Regions from separate parts of the Homo sapiens genome. Here region 1 is linked to region 2. The links are contacts of gene promoters, found by promoter capture Hi-C in blood cells and fetal thymus (Javierre and others, 2016). All regions are on one chromosome and are shown on one strand. The core of a region is centred on a gene start or on the middle of the fragment in contact, and the rest is flanking DNA. Distances in the headings are between cores, read along the strand shown.

Region 1 (4,845 bases), core at 2,103-4,602, 5.1 Mb before region 2:
CAGCATGGGAAAGACCTGCCCCCAAGATTCAGCTATCTCCCACTGGGTCCCTCCCACAGCACTTGGGAATTGTGGGAGCCACAAGATGTGATTTGGATAGGGACACAGAGCGAAACCACATCAGTACCTCACTTTTAGTAATGTATAGAGTAAGCAGAAAACAATAAGATTTGAACAATACTGTAGGCCAAATGGACCTCACACATATACAGAACATTCCATCTAACTGCAGAAGAATATACATTCTTTTCAAGCACACAAGGAACATTCTCCAGGACAAATCATATGTTAGGCCACAAAACAAGCCTTAACAAATTTAAGAAGATTGATGTCTATATGAAGTATCTTTTCTGACTATAATGGTATGAAACTAGAAATCAATAATGAGGAAAATTGGAAAACAACATGTGGAAATTAACACACTCACTCCTGAACAACCAGTAGGTCAAAGAAAAAATCATAAGGGAAATAAAAAATATCTTGAGACAAATGAAAATGGAAACACAACATGCCAGAACGTGGGATGCAGAGAAAGCAATTCTAAAAGGGAAGTTTATAGTGTTAAATTCTATATTAAGAAAAACAAAGATCTCAAAGAACCTAACTTTACACCTCAAGAAACTAGAAAAAGATGAACAAATTAAGCCCAAAATCTAGAGAAAGAGGGAAAGATAAAGATCAGAGCAAAAATAAATGAAATAGAGAATAGAAAAACAATAGAAAAAATCAACGAAACTATGATCATAATAGTGAAATCTGGTTTTTTGAAAAGATAAAATTGACAAACCTTTAGCTAGGCTAAGAAAAAACTCAAAATTATAAAATTATAAATTATAAATTATAAAATAAATTATAAATTATAAAATTATAAATGGAAGAGGAGACATAGCACAGAAATGCAAAGGATCATAAGATACTACTATGAACAAGTATGCACCAACAAATTGGATAACCTAGAAGTGAACAAATTATTAGAAACATACAAGCTACCAAAACTGAATCATGAAGAAATAGAAGTTCTGAGCAGATCAATAAAGAGTAAGGAGATTGAATCTATAATCAAAAACCTCCCAACAAAGAAAAGCCTGGTACCTGATTGCTTCACTGGTGAATTCTACCAAATATTTAAGGAAGAATTAACACCCAGCCATCTCAAACTCTTCCAAAAATTAAAGAGGAGGGAAAACTTTTAAACTCATTTTATGAGGTCAGCATTACCCTGATACCACAGCCAGGCAAAGACACTACAAAAATAGAAAATTACAGGCCAATATCTCTGATGAGCATACACGCAAAAATCCTTAACACAATAACTAGCAAACTAAATTCAACAGCTCATTGAAAGGATCATACGCTATGATTAAGTGAGATTAATCACTGGGATGTAAGGATGGTTCAACATACACAAATAAGTAAATGTGATACACCACATTAACAAAATTAAGCATAGAAAATGTGATAATTTCAATTGATGCAGAAAAAGCATCTGACAAAATTTAACTTCCTTTCATGATAAAAACTCAACAAATTATGTATAGAAGGCACATACCTCGAAATATTAAAGGTCATATATGACAGGCCCACAGCTAACATCACTATCAGTGGTAGAAGACAGAAAGGTTTTCCTTTAAGATCAGGAGCAAGATAAGGAAAAACGAAAGGCATACAAATTCGAACAGAAGAAGTGAAATTGTCTCTGCTGATGATGTGGTCTTATATATAGAAGACCCTAAAGATGCCACCAAAAACTTGTTAAACTAATAAACAAATTCAGTAAAGTTGCAGTAAAAACCAATATTGTTTCCAGGTACTACTACCATCTGAAAAAGAAATCAAGAAAACAATTCCATTTACAGTACCATCAAATTATTACAGTACCATCAAATTATTTAAGAATAAATTTAACCAGAATTTATAATATATATAATATAATAAAATAAAATTAACCTGTTCACTGAAAACTATAAGACTTTGATGAAAGAAGTTGAAGACACAAATAGAAAAATATCTGGTGTTCATGGATTAGAAACTATTGTTAAAATCTCCATACTACCCAAAGTGATGTGTAGATTCAGCGCAATTTCCATAAAAAAATTCCAGTGTCATTTTTCACAGAAATAGAAAAATACTCCTAAAACTCATAAGAAACCACAGAATACCCCAAATAACCAAACTTTCAGCAAAAAGAACAAAGCTGGAAAGGCATCACACTACCTGATTTCAAAATTGAGTATAAAGCTACAGTAATAAAAACAGCATGATACTGGCATAAAACCAGACATAGAGACCAATAGAACAAAATAGCCCAGAAATAGATCCCGTAATTTATAGTCAGTCAATCTTTGACAAAAGTGTCAAGAACACACAACAGGGAAAGGACTTTTTTTTAAATAAGTGGGTGGGGAAAACTAGATATCCATATATGAAGGAATGAAATTAGACACACCATATTACAAAATCAACTCAAAATGGATTAAAGACTTAAGAGCTGAAACTGTGAAACTAATGGGAGAAAACGTAACGGAAGAAACTTCTTGTCATTGGTCTGACCAATGATTTTTGGATAAGACTTTAAAAGCACAGGCAGAAAAAGCAAAAATAGACAAAAGGGATTGAATCAAACTAAAAAGCTTCAAGTGTTGGCAAAGATATGGAGAAAGGGAACCTGTGTACATTGTTGGTGGGAACGTAAATTAATATAGCCATTATGGAAAACAGTATGGAAATTCATTTAAAAAAAGTAAAACTACCGTATGACCCAGCAATCTCACTTCTGGCTACATATCTAAACAAAATCAGTATACACTTCTATGTTCATTGCAGCATTATTCACATTAGCCAAGATGTGGAATCAACCTAATTGTCCATGGATTGATGAATGGATAAATAAAATGAATATATGTACAATGGCATACTTTTCCAGCCTTTAAAAAGAAGGAAATGCTGTCACTTATGACAACATGGATAAACCTGGAGGACATTACGGTAAGACAAACACTGCATGATCTCATTTATATTTGGAATCTAAAAAAGTTGAACTCATACAAGTAGAGAGTAGAATGGTGGTTGTCAGGGGTCAGAGGAGATGAGCTGATGTTGGCCAAAGGGTGCAAAATTTCGGTTAGATGGGATTAAAAAGTCCTGGTGATCTGTTGCACAGTATGGTGACTATAGTTTATACTTGAAAATTGCTAACAGAGTAGATCTTAAGTGTTCTTCACACACAAAAATAGTGAGGTGATAGATATGTTAATTAGCTTGATATCCTTTTACAATGTATATGTATATTGAAACACCATGTTGTACACTATATATACAATTTTTACTTATCAATTATATCTTAAGAAAAAATTAAGCCATTTGAAATGTGTATTTTATTTAAAATAATGGTAGTAAACCTATTACAGGTTAATGGAAGCAACATTTTTTATGAAAAATAACAATTTTCAAAACCAAAGGTTATTGAGAAGAGGCGCATTATTTTACATCTTTGTAAATCTCCTTGGCATTTGACTTAATAGAAAACAGCTGGATTCGCATCTGCTTTGGCCTTCAATTTGTCATGATATCACAGGTCATACAGCCTCAGGCAAACGTCACTCCACACTTGCGAAAGAAGTGAAAACTGTTGTAGTTCACAGAAGATAATACTTTTGATTGAGATGGTGCTATGATGCTATGAGTTTGTGAGTTCACAATTTAACCTCCTTTTAATATAAACTTGCAATAATAGGAATATTTAAGATATCCATATGGGTCAAAACTTGAAAGAAAAATGCAAGGATATGTGGAATTGAAAACATAAACCTTCTGAACTAATGATCTTGAAAAAGGCAGAGGAAATTAAAAATCTGACTGCTCTTGGGTAATGAGGTCCGGAAGCACTCCATGCATGTTGAGGTCCCAGGCTCATTGTGGCAAACAGGTACTGGATTTGGACTCTCCTGACATAAAAGGAGCCTGGAAAAACAACAACAACAACAAACAGTGATGGATACCCAGGTTTTTTACTTACGAGTGGTGGCAGGGGGTGAAAAAACAAAGCCATGCAGAGAGGACCCAGCCTAAGCTTTAATCTTGCTCAGTGACTAATACACCCCTTTTGTCACATGGCACAAAATCCCCAGTTGACAATACAAGATTGTCTCTGGACTGTGCTTCTCATGGGTGAGGTAGAGACAGCCAAAAAGACATGGAGGGAAGAAAAGTTCAGAGAGGAGGGGAAAAGATAACCCATAGGAAAAACACTTAGAAACTAAACTTGCAAAGCACTGGGTTAAAGTTAGGAAATCTTAAAATGAACAAGACAGCAAAACTAGCAATCAAGACATGAATTCAGTCCTTTCAAAATGCAATTCAAATAGTGTTAGTGTGACTTTACGATTTTTGAAGAAATAAAGAATAGTGTCCATAAAATGTTCATCCATTTGAGAAAGGTAGATATAAAAAAAGTACCAATTGGAAATCATAGAACAGAAAACATAGTTACTGTATTTAAAACATCTAGGGAAATGCTATTACCAGATGCAGTTAAAAAGAGAAGTTACTCAGAAAGCACAGAAAACAGTATGAAAAACAGAAAGATTGAGACAAATGGAGGATGGATTAAGACGGGTCATTATACTTTATAGGTTGAAAAGAGTAGAAATGGAATGGCAGAAAAGTTCTATTTAAAGAAACACTGGCCCAAGAATTCTCCAGAATGGAAGAAAGACCTTCATTGGTCACATCAATCCTGAGCAGGATAAACAAAAATCTATACATAACATCTATTCTGAAAGCTACCGCGGGAAAAACTAGACGTTATTAGAAAGGAACATTACGCTGATGCAGACCTCCTCATCA
Region 2 (4,916 bases), core at 1,403-3,902:
AAGTTGGGGGAAATGTTTGAGACCCCTGGATTAGCTGGCTTGTCCGGAGCTAGTGAACAGTAGTCCTGGGATTCTAGTCCAGGCAATCTGGCTTTACCACCTCAGTCCAGTGCTTTACTGGGAGGCTGTGCTGCTCGCCGAGGCCATTTCTCATGTTTCAGTTACCAGAAGAGTCAGGGACTTTTGCAGCATAGGCAGGAATACTCCCATTCCGGTCAACCCTAAGACATCTTCCCTTTTAGCCTTACGCAAACACAGAAGTGGAAGTCCATTTTAAGACTTTCGCTTTTTTCTTCACCATAGTCACTTTGGAACACACACTTGGCTCTATTTTTGCCCAACCTAGTGTGCTAATCACAGGCCATTTGGTAGCCAGGAAGAAAACCTACTTATGTTTTAGAAAAGAGGGCTCATGGGAAACAGGTAGGGGTGTCCCAGGACCCCCGTTTTAGGAAGAACAGTCAGACTTCAAAAGACCTACAAATTTTTCTGGCAATTACTCTCTGTGGAGTCCCTTGTCTCTTGTTTTCTCTTGACATTTGGGCCCTTCTCCTCTGTGCATAATGATGTCCTCTGCCATTCCCTTTATTTTAATCCCCTTACAAAGTGTTGGCTTCCATGTGACTCCTAGGCACGTCTTCATTTGTTACCCTTCATACCTTGGGAATCTTCTAAAATGCATCTGTTGTTATGATCCCAAGAAAATGTTTATAAAATACAAACACAAATGTTTATAAAGTACAAATGAACATATCACCCTTCTGATTAAAGATCTTCAGTGATTCTCCATCTCATCCCCATCCTCCTGGTGTGGGATGCTGGAGTGTAGCAGTCCCCAACATTTTTGGCACCAGGGACCAGTTTCATAAAAAACAATTTCTCCATGGGGTGGCGGGGTAGATGGTTTCAGGATGATTTAAGCACATTGCATTTATTGTAGACTTTATTTCTATTATTATTATTACATTGTAATACACAATGAAATAATTATACAACTCACAATGATGTAGAATCCGTGGGAGCCCTGAGCTTGCTTTCCCGCAACTAGACAGTCCCATCTGGGAGTGATGGGAGACAGTGACAGATCATCAGGCATTAGATTCTCATAAGGAGCACACAACCCAGATCCCTGGCATGCACAGTTCACAGTAGGGTTCACACTGTTATGAGAATCTAATGCCGCCACTAATCTGACAGGAGGCAGAGCTCAGGCAGTAATGCCAGCAATGGGGAGTGGCTATAAATACAGATGAAGCTTCTCTTGCTCACCTGCCAGTCACCTGCTGTGCAGCCCACTTCCTAACAGGCCACAGACCGGTATCGGTCTGTGTATTGGTCTATGGCCTGGAGGTTGGGGACCCCTGCTGTAATGTGAAGTCAGGAGCTGTGGTAGCTTTCTTGGAGCCATGAAGTGGCAATCCCCAGGAAAAAAAGTCACCATATTAGGGATAAAAAAGAGAAAAGATTAAAATGAATGTAGTTCTTGATGATATTTTCCAGATATAACCTAACCTAGTATTACCCTCTTGCAAAATTCTTGTAAAGTAAACCATAAATTTCGTCTTGGTTCTAAGCTAAGCTTGTCCAGCCCATGGCCTAAGATGGCTTTGAATGCAGCCCAACACAAATTCATAAACTTTCTTAAAACATTATCAGATTTTTGGGGGATTTTTTTTTTTTTTTTTTTTTTTAGCTCATCAGGTATCGTTAGTGTTAGTGTATTTTATGTGTGGCCCAAGACAATTCTTCTTCTTCCAGTGTGGCCCAGGGAAGGCAAAAGATTGGACACCCCTTGTTGAAGCCATTGTTAGGTGTAATTGTAAATTATAAATTACTTAGAATTAAAAACAGCCCGGCTCATGCCTGTAATCCCAGCATTTGGGGAGGCTGAGGCAGGAGGATCACTAAACCCAGGGGTCTGAGACATGCCTGGGCAACGTAGCAGGATACTGTCTCTAAAAGAAAAGAAAAAACAGTCTTAATGCAACAATGCCTTGGTAATAATGCTTTTAGAATCAGTGTCGTTATCTCTGATTCTGTAACTGTCTTACCATATTTCTCCATATCACTCTGATACCCTTGGAAGGATGCTTAACATTTCAGAAAAACGGTTATTTCTTTGGGCTAGAAGACTACAAATGAGCTTCCACAAGATCAGAGGATTATGGGGTTAATCTTGGTGGTGTGCATGGGTGTGGACGCGCTGTCCTGCCAACTGTCTCAACTTCCCCCACTCCCTTACCTCTCTCTGTGTTTCTGGTCTCCATCCCTCATGACTTCTTCTCTTCCTTTCATTGCCTCCCTCTGATTCTTCTCACCACAGTGCTTGCTGCTTTCTTTACCTTGACCCTTGGAGGGAGCAGGGGCCCGGACACTTGGATTTCTTGGCCCTTGTTGTTGAGAGCACTGAACCTCTGCATCCCACAGAGACTGAGGCTGAGAAATACAGTCAGGTACATGAGTTTCTAAACAGGCCCAGCCCACTGTCCTAATGCCATTAAAGCAGACAGTATATTGGTGTATTCTTGGGGCCATCAAAAATCAGAAGAAGCTCAGACTTCCTATTTCCTGCTACCCAGCTGGTTTTAGTTCCTTTACCCCTCCTCCTGTTCCTTGGTGTATGTTTTGCTGCAATCATTAGAGCCTGAGTCACTCTCCCCAGGAGACCCAGACCTAGAACTACCCAGAGCAAGACCACAGCTGGTGAACAGTCCAGGTAAGAAACATATTCTGGGGGACTGGGTAGCTTGACATAGACACACTTAATACACTGGTGAACACAATAGACTCTTTGTTTGAAGAAGGATGTGGAGTTGAAGAATAATTTTTTTAAAGAGGTTCTAAACAGGCCGGGCACGGTGACTCATGCTTGTAATCCCAGCACTTTGGGAGGCCAAGGCAGGTGGATAACTTGAGGTCAGGAGTTCGAGACCAGCCTGGCCAACATGTTGAAACCTCACTTCTATTAAAAATACAAAAATTAGCCAGGCGTGGTGGTGGGCGTCTGTAATTCAAGCTACTTGGGAGGCTGAGGCAGGAGAATTGCTTGAATCTGGGAGGTGGAGGTTGCAGTGAGCTCAGATTGCACCACTGTACTCCAGCCTAGGTGACAGAGTGAGACTCCATCTCAAATAAATAAGTAAATAAATAAATAAACAAATAGGCTCTAGACTTTATTGGGGTCCTGATGGGAATGATGGAATATAGAGACACTATGAGGCTGCAGGAGAGAGAAGGGATAAGTGAAGGAGGGAAGTTCTTGAGTAAATGGGGGAATGAGTTTTATGGGACCAGTAGAGGGTAATTCTTGGATGGAAACACTTGTTTTCTGGTTACAGAGATGAGGGCAGAGAACAGTGATGCAGGAGCCAGCAGGAGGAGAATCTGGTGGAGCAAGAGGCAAGGGCATCAGCTTGAGGGCTTGAGTCGGGATGGGAAAGGATGTTTGGTTTGAAGCTTTCAGGAGAAAGCAAAAGAGCCCTAACGACTTTATGATGGGTCATGGGGAAATGAGTGTAATACAGAAGCAGTCACCTTTCGGATCAGTGATGAGTCTCCACGTGAAGACACTGGTTCTGCATGGTGCATAGGACCCAGTAGCGGAATACAGCCCTGCCCTCTCATGAATCTGCAGACATTGGCTGTCATTTCTCATCAAGCTCCTAGTTTCCTCTTCCGTCACACAGGGATGATGATGTATAATCAATGCTGAGTTTGTTGAGATCAGAGGCAAGAAAGTTGAGGATGTGGTACAATGATTATCAAGCATAAAGTCCTTCATCGATGGCAGCCACCAAGGCCTGTGTTCATTGCAAATCACAGGATTTTTCCCTTGAACCATAATTGGACAAAATTGCACAGGTTTTCCTCTCTGGTATGTTCCAGCTCATTATTGCAGAATCCTCATCATTCATTGCAACAATCTTCTGAACTGGTTGCCTTAGAGATTCTTGAGGACAAAGAGTCCTCAGGGTATTTTGGTGGTTGGATGGGTGGTAGGGGAGGGAGACATCTCTGAGTTGTTTCTGAGATTGTAGAGTATCAAAGTTCATTAGAAATGTGAGACACATATGTAATTTCAAAGTGTCAAGTAGGCACTTTAAAAAGGTGAAGAGAAACATGCGAACTTAATTTTAATAAAATATCTAACCTAAACTTAAATAGCCAAATTATTATCATTTTAACATGTAGTCAATATAAAAACTATTAATGAGATGGTCACAATATTTTTTTCATACTAAGTCTTTGAAATCTGATGGGTATTTTACTCCTACAGCCTGTCTCCAGTTGGACTAGCCACAATTCAAGTGCTTGAAAACCACATGTGGTGAGTGACTAGTGCATTAGACAGCTCTTCTGTGCCAGTAGCGTGGCAGGGCAGAGGCAGAAAGAGACTTTTGCTGGAATTCGACAGCCTGGGCTGTTGGGTGACTTTAAGGAATTAACTGAAATGCTCTAAGTCGCACTTTCCTCGTCTGCAAAATGGGTACCATAAAGACAGTGACCCTCATAGTAACAATTTTGAGGAAGGCTGCTGCAAGCATTAGAAGAGAAGACCAGGCCGGGCGCAGTGGCTCACACCTGTAATCCTAGCACTTTGGGAGGCTGAGGCAGGTGGACTGCCTGAGCTCAAGAGTTTGAGACCAGCCTGGGCAACATGGTGAAACCCCATGTCTACTAAAATACAATTAAAAAGAAAAATTAGCCAGGCACGGCGGCGTGCACCTGAAATCCCAGCTACTCAGGAGGCTGAGACAGGAGAATTGCTTGAACCTGGGAGGCGGAGGTTGCAGTGAGCTCAGATCACGCCACTGCACTCCAGCCTGGGTGATAGAGAGAGACTCCATCTCAAAATAAATAAATAAATAAAATAAAATAAATTAAAAAAAAGAGAGAAGGCCAGCTCTCAGCAAGAA

The links. Contacts are between HindIII fragments. The CHiCAGO score rates a contact against its expected background, and 5 or more counts as called.
Region 1: a contact is called between a fragment that was not itself captured here and the fragment with the promoter of FPR1 in region 2, in 1 of 17 cell types (activated CD4 T cells). The highest score is 6.1, in activated CD4 T cells.

What each region holds. Positions count from the first base shown.
Region 1 is chr19:56,847,067-56,851,911 of GRCh38, reverse strand. It overlaps MIMT1 (MER1 repeat containing imprinted transcript 1), which reads right to left. Exons shown (of 2, transcript NR_024059.2): 2 at 3,356-3,960. Among named protein-coding and RNA genes, the nearest start is that of MIMT1, 8.6 kb to the right of the region's middle. The HindIII fragment of the contact is 1,439 bases long and covers 2,633-4,071 here.
Region 2 is chr19:51,749,614-51,754,529 of GRCh38, reverse strand. FPR1 (formyl peptide receptor 1) reads left to right here and starts at 2,652. Exons shown (of 2, transcript NM_002029.4): 1 at 2,652-2,716. The HindIII fragment of the contact is 1,877 bases long and covers 1,582-3,458 here.